2 separate regions of the Homo sapiens genome follow, and region 2 is linked to region 1. The links are contacts of gene promoters, found by promoter capture Hi-C in blood cells and fetal thymus (Javierre and others, 2016). All regions are on one chromosome and are shown on one strand. Each heading gives the region's core, a stretch centred on a gene start or on the middle of the fragment in contact. The rest is flanking DNA. Distances are from core to core; before and after follow the strand shown.

Evidence for each region. Contacts are between HindIII fragments. The CHiCAGO score rates a contact against its expected background, and 5 or more counts as called.
Region 2: a fragment that was not itself captured here is called in contact with the fragment with the promoter of KIR2DL3 in region 1 in 1 of 17 cell types (M1 macrophages); the score reaches 5.1 in M1 macrophages.

Annotation. Positions count from the first base shown.
Region 1 is chr19:54,735,790-54,741,652 of GRCh38, forward strand. It overlaps KIR2DL3 (killer cell immunoglobulin like receptor, two Ig domains and long cytoplasmic tail 3), which reads left to right and starts at 2,724. Exons shown (of 8, transcript NM_015868.3): 1 at 2,724-2,790; 2 at 3,718-3,753. The coding sequence starts at 2,757. KIR3DL3 (killer cell immunoglobulin like receptor, three Ig domains and long cytoplasmic tail 3) reads left to right here. Exons shown (of 8, transcript NM_153443.5): 7 at 31-83; 8 at 182-843. The coding sequence ends at 307. RefSeq lists an enhancer at 1-777. The HindIII fragment of the contact is 12,642 bases long and covers 1-5,863 here.
Region 2 is chr19:54,992,862-54,998,724 of GRCh38, forward strand. NLRP2 (NLR family pyrin domain containing 2) reads left to right here. Exons shown (of 13, transcript NM_017852.5): 11 at 1,408-1,578; 12 at 4,456-4,626. Among named protein-coding and RNA genes, the nearest start is that of GP6-AS1, 10 kb to the right of the region's middle. The HindIII fragment of the contact is 4,215 bases long and covers 1,455-5,669 here.

The sequences.
Region 1 (5,863 bases), core at 1,474-3,973:
AGCTGTTTTGACGACTTCCGTCTTCTACAGATGCTGTTGTAATGGACCAAGAGCCTGCAGGGAACAGAACAGTGAACAGGGAGGTAGGTGCTCCTCCGCCCAGCCTCGTGGCTAGTCTTATTCCCAAAGAGTCCTGGAAAATGTGAGCACCCTCCCTCACTCAGCATTTCCCTCCCTCCAGGACTCTGATGAACAAGACCCTCAGGAGGTGACATACGCACAGTTGAATCACTGCGTTTTCACACAGAGAAAAATCACTCGCCCTTCTCAGAGGCCCAAGACACCCCCAACAGATACCAGCGTGTAACACGGAACTTCCAAATGCTGAGCGCAGATCCAAAGTTGTCTTCTGTCCACTAGCACCACAGTCAGGCCTTGATGGGATCTTCTAGGGAGACAATAGCCCTGTCTCAAAACCGGGTTGCCAGCTCCCATGTACCAGCAGCTGGACTCTGAAGGCGTGAGTCTGCATCTTAGGGCATCGCTCTTCCTCACACCACGAATCTGAACATGCCTCTCTCTTGCTTACAAATGTCTAAGGTCCCCACTGCCTGCTGGAGAGAAAACACACTTGCTTAGCCCACAATTCTCCATTTCACTTGACCCCTGCCCACCTCTCCAACCTAACTGGCTTACTTCCTAGTCTACTTGAGGCTGCGATCACACTGAGGAACTCACAATTCCAAACATATAAGAGGCTCCCTCTTAACACGGCACTTAGATACGTGCTATTCCACCTTTCCTCAGAGTATCTTTCAGCCTTCTGTCAGCAGTAAAACTTATAAATTTTTTTTATAATTTCAATGTAGTTTTCTATTCTTCAAGTAAACATGTCTGCCCTCATGGTTTCTTCAATGGGACTCTTTTCTTGCCTAAGGCTTCCGGTGTTATCATTACCACGTCCACATAACCCCATCTGTTCTCCGCTGGGTTCTCAGCCCTGGACTCTGAGCTTCTGGAAGCATGGTGGAGCCTGAATTGTCTCTGAGACTCCAATTTCCATCCAAAGATGCAGCACATAGGAGGTTCCAAGGATGGTGAATCAGATGAACAAGTGATATTCTTACTCTCTGCAGATCTGGAAAGCTGGCAGAGTCATTCCACGATGAAACATTTGTAGAGTCATAGGCCTTGTTAGTCTCATCTCCACAGGGACACGTATCAACACATCATCTTTCATACTACTATAAATAGACAGTCACTCCTCCATATCTCTGGGGTTTACACATGTTTATTGAATCAGCAATAAATCAAAAATATTTTGAGAAAAAAAATCCCCGAAGTTTCAAAAAGCAAAAAACTATGTTGAATCGACACAAATTGAGTGGCGTGTAGGCTGTGTCAGGAATTATAAGTAATCAAGAGATGATTTCATGTATACAGGAGGATGTGCATGGGTTCTATGCAATTGCTATGCTATTTTTTTTTTTTTTTTGAGACAGTCTCACTCTCTCACCCAGGCTGGAGTGCAGTGGCGTGATCTCAACTCACTGCAACCTCCGCCTTCCAGGTTCAAGCGATTCTCTTCCCTCAGCCTCCCCAGTAGCCTCCCCTAGGATTACAGGCACGTGCCACCATGCACAGATAAATTTTTTTGTGTGTATATTTTTAGTAGAGATGGGGTTTCAGAATGTTGGACCAGCTGGTCTTGAACTCCTGACCTTGTGATCTACCCAGCTCAGCCTCCCAAAGTGCTGGGATTACAGGCGTGAGCCACGGTGCCCAGCTTCACTATGCCATTTCATGCAAGGGGCTTGAGCATCTGCAGATTTTGGTATCTGAATGGGGATCCTGGAACCAATCACCCAGGTATAGTGAAGGACCATGGTATATAATTTTTATTTGTCAATCTTAAAAATAAAGCATAAAAAATTTACAACAACAAGATAAAAAATAAGAAGTGTTTTTATAGTGTGAGGATAAGTTTAGATTTATTTTTTCCTACGTGTAACCCTATGGTCCTGTGTTATTTGTTGAGAAAATATTCTATTCCACCTTAAACTACATGGCAGCCTTTGTCAACTATAAAGGGACTGTGTATCCACAGATGTATTTTAGACACAGTTTTCTGTCCAGTGGTTCTCTGTATCCCCTCTCATGAGGATGCTGCATTTTATATAAACTTATAGAACCCCTTAAAATTTGGTAACCTGAGTCCTCTGATTTGTTATTATAGGTTATTTAGTTTGCTTTTTTTTTTTTTCTTGAGACAGACTCTTCCTCTGTCACCCAAGCTGGAGTTCAGTGGCTTGAGCTCAGCTCACTGCAACCTCCGTCTCCCAGGTTCAAGCTATTCTGATGCCTCTGGTTTAGTAGTAGAAACTCAAGCAGGAAAATTAGAATGGCTTCTTGTCACAATTACTCTGATAATGTTAATAATACCTGTTAGACATTTTGCACATTACATATGAAGAAGAGTTTGAATCTCAGATAAAAACAAAAATACATCAAAAATCTTTAATGTAAGCACAGAATTCAATCATCTCGTGTATGAGAGGTTGGATCTGAGACGTCTTTTGAGTCTGGTCGTAGTGAAGGACGCAAGGTGTCAATTCTAGTGAGAACAATTTCCAGGAAGCCATGTTCCGCTCTTGAGCGAGCACCCACTGGGCCTCATGCAAGGTAGAAAGAGCCTGCGTACGTCACCCTCCCATGATGTGGTCAACATGTAAACTGCATGGGCAGGGCGCCAAATAACATCCTGTGCGCTGCTGAGCTGAGCTGGGGCGCGGCCGCCTGTCTGCACAGACAGCACCATGTCGCTCATGGTCGTCAGCATGGTGTGTGTTGGTGAGTCCTGGAAGGGCATCGAGGGAGGGAGTGCGGGGATGGAGATCGGGGCCCAGAGTTGGAGATATAGGCCTGGAAGTGGAGTTATGGGCCTAGAGATGGAGTGATGGGCCTAGAAGTGGAGATCTGGGCCTGGAGTGGAGATCTGGGCCTGGAGTGGAGATATGGGCCTGGAGGTTGAGATATGGGCCTGCAGTAGAGATATGGGCTTGTAGTGGAGACATGGGCCTGGAGATGGAGATATGGGCCTGGAGATGGAGATATGGGCCTGCAGTAGAGATAGGGGCCTGGAGTGGAGATATGGGCCTGGAGTGGAGATATGGGCCTGGAGTGGAGATATGGGCCTGGAGGTGGAGATATGGGCCTGGAGGTGGAGATATGGGCCTGGAGTGGAGATATGGGTCTGGAGGTGGAGATACGGGCCTGCAGTAGAGATATGGGCCTGGAGTGGAGATATGGGCCAGGAGTGGAGTTATGGGCCTAGAGGTGGATATCTGGGCCTGGAGTGGAGATATGGGCCTAGGAAGGAGATATGGGCCTGGGTGTGGAGATATGGGACTGGAGAGGTGATATGGGCCTGGAGTGGAGATATGGGCTTAGGGTGGAGATCTGGGCCTGGGGCGGAGATATGGGACTGGATTGGAGATAGGGGCCTAGGGTGGAGATCTGAGCCTGGATTGGCGATATGGGCCTAGGGTGGAAATATCAGCCTGGAGTGGAGATATGGGCTTGGGGTGGGGATATGGGCCTGGAAACTGGGTCTCTGCACAGCCGACAGCCCTGTTCTTGGGTGCAGGTAGGCACTGAGGGTGAGTTTAACTTCAGCCCAGGAAGGGCCTGGCTGCCAAGACTCACAGCCCAGTGGGGGCAGCAAGGGAGGCCTGGTTTGCCTGCAGATGGATGGTCCATCATGATCTTTCTTTCCAGGGTTCTTCTTGCTGCAGGGGGCCTGGCCACATGAGGGTGAGTCCTTCTCCAAACCTTCGGGTGTCATCTCCCCACATAAGAGGATTTTCCTGAAACAGGAGGGAAGTCCTGTCGGGGAGTCTCTCATAAACTAGGAAGAGAGGACCCTGGGGTGCTCAGCCCACATTTCTGACCTCGCCTCCCTGGCCTCTCAACCCCTTGGCAGAGTCAAGTTCTGTGGGGACCAGGGTTAGACTGGGGTGCTCAAAGCTGGGGTGTGTGGTTGGGAAGTGGTAGGAACAGCAGATCCTCTGAGGACAAAGGTGTTACTCACACACTTCAGCGTTTCCATGATGGTAGGGGCTGCAGTGTGGCTGCTGTCATTCTACCAGAAGAGGTGGGAAACCACAGCCATGGCCCTGACATTCCAAATCCTCTGATGGGGGCTCAGTTGTTTATTTTCGTTCAGGCATCCGCTGATATCCATTCACAAAGGACATGCCCTCCACCTCATGTCTACCCTGTGTTGTTTTATGTGAGTAATCTTACAGTATTAAAATCTAGTAGGAGTCTCTTTACTCAGCACTTGCTCAAAGTTCTCAGCTGAGGCTTTTGTTGTAGGGAGACACCATGTCTTTGCGGGATGGGTCCTTCCTTCAGCCCTGGGCACCAAGGTGTGATAGTAGCCATAGAAACGTGGAAAGCGAGGAGAATCTTCTGAGCACAGGGAGGGAAGGGCAGTTCCACATCCTCCTCTCTAAGGCGGCGCCTCCTTCTCCCCAAGGTGGTCAGGACAAGCCCTTGCTGTCTGCCTGGCCCAGCCTTGTGGTGCCTCTAGGACATGTCATTCTTCGGTGTCACTCTTATCTTGGGTTTAACAACTTCAGTCTGTAAAAGGAAGGTGGGGTGCCTGTCCCTGAGCTCTACAACAGAATATTCTGGAACAGCCTTTTCATGGGCCCTGTGACCCCCGCACACACAGGGACATACAGATGTCGGGGTTCACACACACACTCCCCCAGTGGGTGGTCAGCACCCAGCAACCCCCTGGTGATCGTGGTCATAGGTCAGAGGGCTCCTGTCTTGGATTCTCCTTGTCCCACCTCCTGAATCCCAGAGCTTCTGTTGGGCATGTCCTTGAGGGTCCCATCACGCAGGCCCTGACTGTATTTGTGGTAAAGGGGGATTGAATACAGGGAAATGGGTGCTGTGGTGGGAAGAATAATTGTCCCCAGTGATGACTACATTCTAATCCCTGGAGTCTGTGACTATTTATGTTATAGGGGAAGGGACTGAAGGGGAAGATGGAGCTCATGGGGAGACAGCCTGGACTGTCCCACTGGGCTCAGTGTAATCACAAGGGTGCACATGAAAGGAGGAGGAAGAGGGGAGTGGGGATTAGAGCAGTCCAGTGGAAGTCTTCACCAGCTTTGAAGGTGGAGGAAGGCCAAGATCCATGAATGCAGGTGGCCTATAGAGGCTGGAAAAGTCAAGGAACTGATTCTCCAGAGTCTCCAGAGGGAACAAAGCCCTGCAGATGCCTTGATTTTAGCCCAGGAAAAATAGGGTCCAATTTCTGTCTCCAGTACTGGAAGGTGTCAGTGTGGTCTCTCCTGCTGCCATGCTTCTGATAATTTTCTACAGCAGCAACAGGAAACCAACACTGGAACCCAGGTCAAGGACAAGTTAAGAAACAACCCAAGGAAAGCCAGGCATGGTGGCAGGTGCATGTAATCCTAGCGACTCAGGAGGCTGAGGGCAGGAGAATCACTTGAACCCAGGAGACAGAGGTTGCAGTGAGCCTAGACCACACCACTTCACTCCAGCCTGGGTGAAGGAGTGAGACTCTGTCTCCATAATTAATTAATTAATTAAAGAAACCAAACAAGGAGAAGGTTGGCTACCCTGAGATCAGCAAGGGTGGGATGATGATGCCACCACCAGGCTCCATCCACATAGGGAGGGGTTGATACTCCTCCAACCAGCACCAGGAGCCAGCCTATGGAAGCTGGCACCATGGAGAAGGCACAGGCATGGCAAGAGTGGCTCCCAGTCCCCACCAGGAACAGGGTGTGTGGACACTGGTGCCTGCCTTATTCATCAGTTCATACCTTCTGCCAAGGATTGCAATTCATCCAAAAGAGATTGAACCAGGCTGATAAGAGCC
Region 2 (5,863 bases), core at 2,312-4,811, 260 kb after region 1:
CAATTCAACTTTTTGATCCATGCCCCTATTTTGCTAAGTTGTCAACTTCCCTTTAGTCTTATGTGGGTTTTCCTCCATTACAGTCATGGAAGTTTCTAGAAGGCCGGGTAGGGTCTTTGAGAGGCCGAGGCAGGTGGATCATGAGGTCAGGAGTTCAAGACCAGCCTGGCCAACATGGTGAAACCCTGTCTTTACTAAAAATACAAAAATTAGCCAGGCGTGGTGTCGGAGCCTGTAATCCCAGCTTACTTGGGAGGGTGAGGCAGAGAATTGCTTGAACCTGGGAGGCGGAAGTTGCAGTGAGCTGAGATTGTGCCACTGTACTCCAGCCTGGGTGTCAGAGCGAGACTGTCTCAAAAAAAAAAAAAAAAAAGTTTCTATACATTCATAAAGTTTCAAGATTTGGGGGTGTGTTTTCACTTCTCCATCGTCATGGACTCCAATCTGCCATCTATTTCCAAGGCCCTTCCAGGTCCTGTGTCCCTCAGCTAGTGGTATGCTTCACTTGGGACCCAGAGATACATGGGCATTATAGTTCAAATTATAATTAAGTTTAGAACTCTATTGAGACAGAAGAAAGAAAACAGAGCTAAGGTGAAATATCTCTGATAATCTGTGTTGGTTAATATCTAGGATCCTAGTACCAGATATGTTGGAGTGTGAGCTGGTGTCTTCTGCCTGTAAGACACTACCTCTCTAGCAACTGAATTTAGCAAATACAATCGTAATCCCAGCATGTTAGGGAGGCCAGGGTGGGCAGATCATCTGAGGTCGGGAGTTCAAGACCAGCCTGGCCAACATGGGGAAACCCTGTCTCTACTAAAAATACAAAACTTAGCTGGGTGTGGTGGCACGCGCATGTGTGTACACACACACACCCCCCTGTAATCCCAGCTACTCGGAAGGCTGGGGCACAAGAATCGCGTGAAACCAGGAGGCGGAGGTTGAAGTGAGCCACCGTGCCAGCTGAGAATCCTTTTTACTTCTCCAACTTCTGTTGGCCACCTGCATTCCTTGGCTTGTGGCCCTTCCTCCAACTTCGGCAGAGCATCTTCAAACGTTGCCCTGGCTCCCTTATCACGTCACCTCCTGCTGGCTTTGACTCTCAGCTCCCTCTTATGAGGATCCCTGTGATTGCTGGACCTACCCAAATAAACCAGGATATAAACCATCTTAAGATGCTCAGTCACCTCTACGAGGTCCCTTTTGCTCGCAGGTGCCAGGAGTTGGGACTTGGACATCTTTAGGGGAGGCCATTCTTCTGTCCACCACACCACCCCATGATTCCATTTCCATGTCACCACTGTCTCTAAGTGTGTCTAACCCACGGCTCAAGAGTCAAAGGTGCATCACAGCAGTGAGAACTCACAGGTTCGGGTTTGCTTTCTTCCTGTGGTTGATTTCTAGGCTTTGGAACTGCGACATAACTAGCGATGGCTGCTGCGATCTCACAAAGCTTCTCCAAGAAAAATCAAGCCTGTTGTGTTTGGATCTGGGGCTGAATCACATAGGAGTTAAGGGAATGAAGTTCCTGTGTGAGGCTTTGAGGAAACCACTGTGCAACTTGAGATGTCTGTGGTGAGTTAACTTATAAGTTCAACTTCCTATACTTACACCTTACTGAATCTGTGGCTAGTGTAAAATAATCAGTGAAGCCGACTTCCCAAGTTATATAATTGAGAGGACCTTTATAGAGTCGATCGAGCATTTACTAGGATGGTTAAAGGAATAAGTTCTAGTCTATGTCTAAGTTTTTGTTTTTTTTTTTCTTGAAGTTTTGCTCTTGTCACATAGGCTGGAGTGCAGTGGCGTGATCTTGGCTCACTGCAACCTCCGCCTCCCAGGTTCAAGCAATTCTCTTGCTTCAGCTTCCCGAGTAGCTGGGATTACAGGCGCCCGCCACCATGCCCAGCTAATTCTTGTATTTTTAGTAGAGACAGGGTTTCGCCATGTTGAAGGTTCATCTCAAACTCCTGACCTCAGGTGATCCGCCCATCTCGGCCTCCCAAAGTGCTGGGATTACAGGCGTGAGCCACTGCGCCAGGCCCTATGTCTAAGTTCTAGTCTGTGTCATGCAAAGAACACCTGTGAAATTTTAAGGATACAGTGCCTCAAGCCATTCAGCCAAAAGCCACTGCCCAGCACCCCACATTCAGAGAGGTGGGAATTGGGCCAGGCACAGTGGCTCATACCTGTAATCCCAGCACTTCGGGAGGCCGAAGCGGGCGGATCACTTAAGGTCAGGAGCTCAAGACCAGCCTGGCCAACTTGAAACTCCATCTCTACTAAAATATAAAAATTAGCCGAGCATAGTAGTGGGTGCCTCTTTTTTTTTTTTTTTTTTTTTTGAGATAGTTTCACTCTTGTTGCCCAGGCTGTAGTGTAATGGCGCGATCTCAGCTCACTGCAACCTCCACCTCCTGGGTTCAAGTGATTCTCCTGCCTTAGCCTCCCACATAGCTGCAAATAAACAGGCATGTGCCACCATGCCTGGCTAATTTTGTATTTTTAGTATAGACGGGGTTTCTCCATGTTGGTCAGGCTGGTCTCGACCTCCGGACCTCAGGTGAGAGCCACCGTGCCCAGCCAGTAGGTGCCTTTAATCCCAGCTACTTGGGAGGCTGAGGCAGGAGAATCACTTGAACCCTGGAGGCAGAGGTTGCAGTGAGCTGAGATCCTGTCACTACACTCCATCCTGGGCTACAAGAGCAAGACTCCATCTCAGGAAAAAATAAAAAAGAGGTAGGAATTAGATATCGTGCCAGAAAATGCTGGCTCTATCAGCAGGTGAGTGGTCTCAACTTGGCTATCTTACAAATACCTTGTGAGTTAGCTACAATCAGATGCACTTGAACCTGGAATCCTATCTGGGAGGCAATCTTAAAAGAATTTGACTCGGGATGGGCAAGGTGGCTCATGCCTGTAATCCTGGCATTTTGGGAGTCCAAGGCAGGTAGATTGCTTGAGGCCAAGAATTTAAAAACAGCCTGGCCAACACAATGAAGCCCTGTCTCTACTGAAAGTACAAAAATCCGCTGAGCATGGCTGTGTACCTCTGCTCCCAGTTACTCAGGAGGCTGAGGTGGGAGGATCACTTGAGCCTGGGAGGAAGAAGTTACAGCGAATTGAGATCACGTCACCTCACTCCAGCCTGGGTGACAGTGAGATCCTGTCTCAAAAAAAAAAAAAAAACAAAAAAAACAAAGGCGCCTTTTTAATCACTCACTGACACGTGTAGAGGAGCAAAAAGTTTGAGTTGCTGGTTGGCCCAGGAGGTCAAGGCTGCAGTGAGCCAAGATGGCGTTACCACACTCCAGCCTGGGCAACCGAGTGAGACCGTGTTTCAAAAAATAAAGTGGCAGGGTGCAGTGGCTCATGCCTGTAATTCCAGCACTTTGGGAGGCCGAGGCAGGTGGATCACCTAAGGTCAGGAGTTCGTAGACCAGCCTGTCTCTACTAAAGAGACAGGTGAAACCCTGTCTCTCTAAAACCACAAAAATCAGGCAGGCATGGTGGCACATAGCTATAATCTCATCTACTTGGAGGCACGAGAACTGCTTGAATCCAGGAGGCAGAGGCTACAGTGAGCCGAGATCATGCCACAGCACTCCAGCCCTGGCGAGAGAGCAAGACTGTCTCAAAGAATAACTTCAAAGATGGAAGTTATTTAACCTCTCTGCTCAAAAGCCTCAGTGCTTCCCTATGTCAATCCAGGTAAAATCCTATATTGACGATGGCTTCAGGGTCTTCTGTGAGCTGGCCACTGCTTACCTATGACCTCATCTTGACAATCCTCCCTGTCTCACTCATGCCCGCTGCCTGGATGTTCTATTTTACGTGTCAGTCACATGTATCTTCAGGGCCTCTGCACAAGCTATTTCTCTGCCTGGAGAACTCCCCCCCGAGCTCTATGACTCGGTCTCTTCACCCCCTCACCTCCAACCATTGTAGCCAGAACCCCCAGTTATTCCCTGTACCCCTTGCCCTTCAGAACCCCTCATCGCCTCCATATTTTCCTGTTAGCAGATGAGCCCTGAGGGCGGAGACGTTTTGTTTGTTTTTTGAGACCGGAGTCTCACTCTGTCACCCAGGCTGGAGTGCAATGGCGCGATCTCGGCTCACTGCAACCTCCGCCTCCTGGGTTCAAGCGATTCTCCTGCCCCAGCCTCCTGAGTAGCTGGGATTACAGGTGCCTGTCACCACGCCCAGCTAACTTCTGTATATTTAGTAGAGACACGGTTTTACCATGTTAGGTTGGTCTTGAACTCCTTGACCTCAGGTGATCCATCCACCTCGGCCTCCCAAAGTGCTGGGATTACAGGCGTGAACCACCGTGCCCGGCCTGAGACTTCTGTTGGTCATGCAGATCCCCAACACACGAGGGTGGGCTTGGCTTGCCGGAGGGCATCGATCAGCACTGGCTGCATTAACGTGTTGATTTCTGTGTTTCCCCAGGTTGTGGGGATGTTCCATCCCTCCGTTCAGTTGTGAAGACCTCTGCTCTGCCCTCAGCTGCAACCAGAGCCTCGTCACTCTGGACCTGGGTCAGAATCCCTTGGGGTCTAGTGGAGTGAAGATGCTGTTTGAAACCTTGACATGTTCCAGTGGCACCCTCCGGACACTCAGGTATGATCCATTTACTTCCCCATCAGGCTTTCTCCAGAGTGGTAGGTTTAGGGGAAGCATAATGACATGGACCTGCTGTAGGAGACTGATCTGGTAGCTGGATTACAGGTTCCCGCCATCACACCCAGCCAATTTCTGTATTTCACTTGGAGAAACGGGGTTTCACCATGTTGGTCAGGCTGGTCTCAAACTCCTGACCTCAGGTGATCCGCCCGCCTCGGCCTCCCAAAGTGCTGGGATTACAGGCGTGAGCAACCGCACCCGGCCACCTTTTTTTTTTTTTTCCTTTGAGGCAAGAACTCACTATGTTCCCCAGGCTGGAGTCCAGCAGCACAATGATGGCTCGCTGCAGGCTCGCTCCAGCTCCTGGGCTCAAGCAATCCTGCCTCAGTTCCTGAGTAGGTAGGTTTATAAGCATGAACCATTGCACCCAGCCACGGCTGCCGTCTACCTGCTCATGATAGCCATTTGTCACTGGGCTGTGTTTTGTTTGTTGCATTTTGTCAGGGTTTTGGGGTTTTGTTTTGTTTTTTCTTTCTTTTTTTTTTTTTTTTTCTGAGATGGAGTCTCACTCTGTTGCCCAGGCTGGGGTGCAGTGGTTGCTAACTGCAACCTCCACCTCCCAGGTTCCAGCTATTCTCATGCTTCAGCCTCCCAAGTAGCTGGGATTACAGGCATGCACCACCACACCTAGGTAATTTTTGTATTTTTAGTAGAGACAGGGTTTTGCCATGTTGGCCAGGGTGGTCTCAAACTCCTGACCTCCGTGATTTGCCCACCTCAGCATCCCAAAGTGCTGGGATTACAGGCATGAGCCACCGCACCCGGCCTGAGTTGTATTTTGATACCATGGCATCAAAGAACCAAGAAGCCCCTTCCTAGGAATGTGGGAACTTCAGAAATTCTCACAAGCAATATACTCTACTGCTGGCTTAAAATAATCTTTATGTAGAAGAAACATAGATTACTTGTTTATTTAACATGAAACTCAGCCTAAGATACTTTGTAAGTCAAAAGACATATGGACACTAAGGGTTTTTTTAAGCTTTAAGTTTGTTTGTTTGTTTATTTATTATTTATTTTGGAGACAGTTTTACTCTTTTTTTTGGGGTGCATCTTTTTTCTTTTTTTTTTTTTTTTTTCCTTTTTTTTTTTTTTTTTTTTTATTGATCATTCTTGGGTGTTTCTCACAGAGGGGGATTTGGCAGGGTCATAGGACAATAGTGGAGGGAAGGTC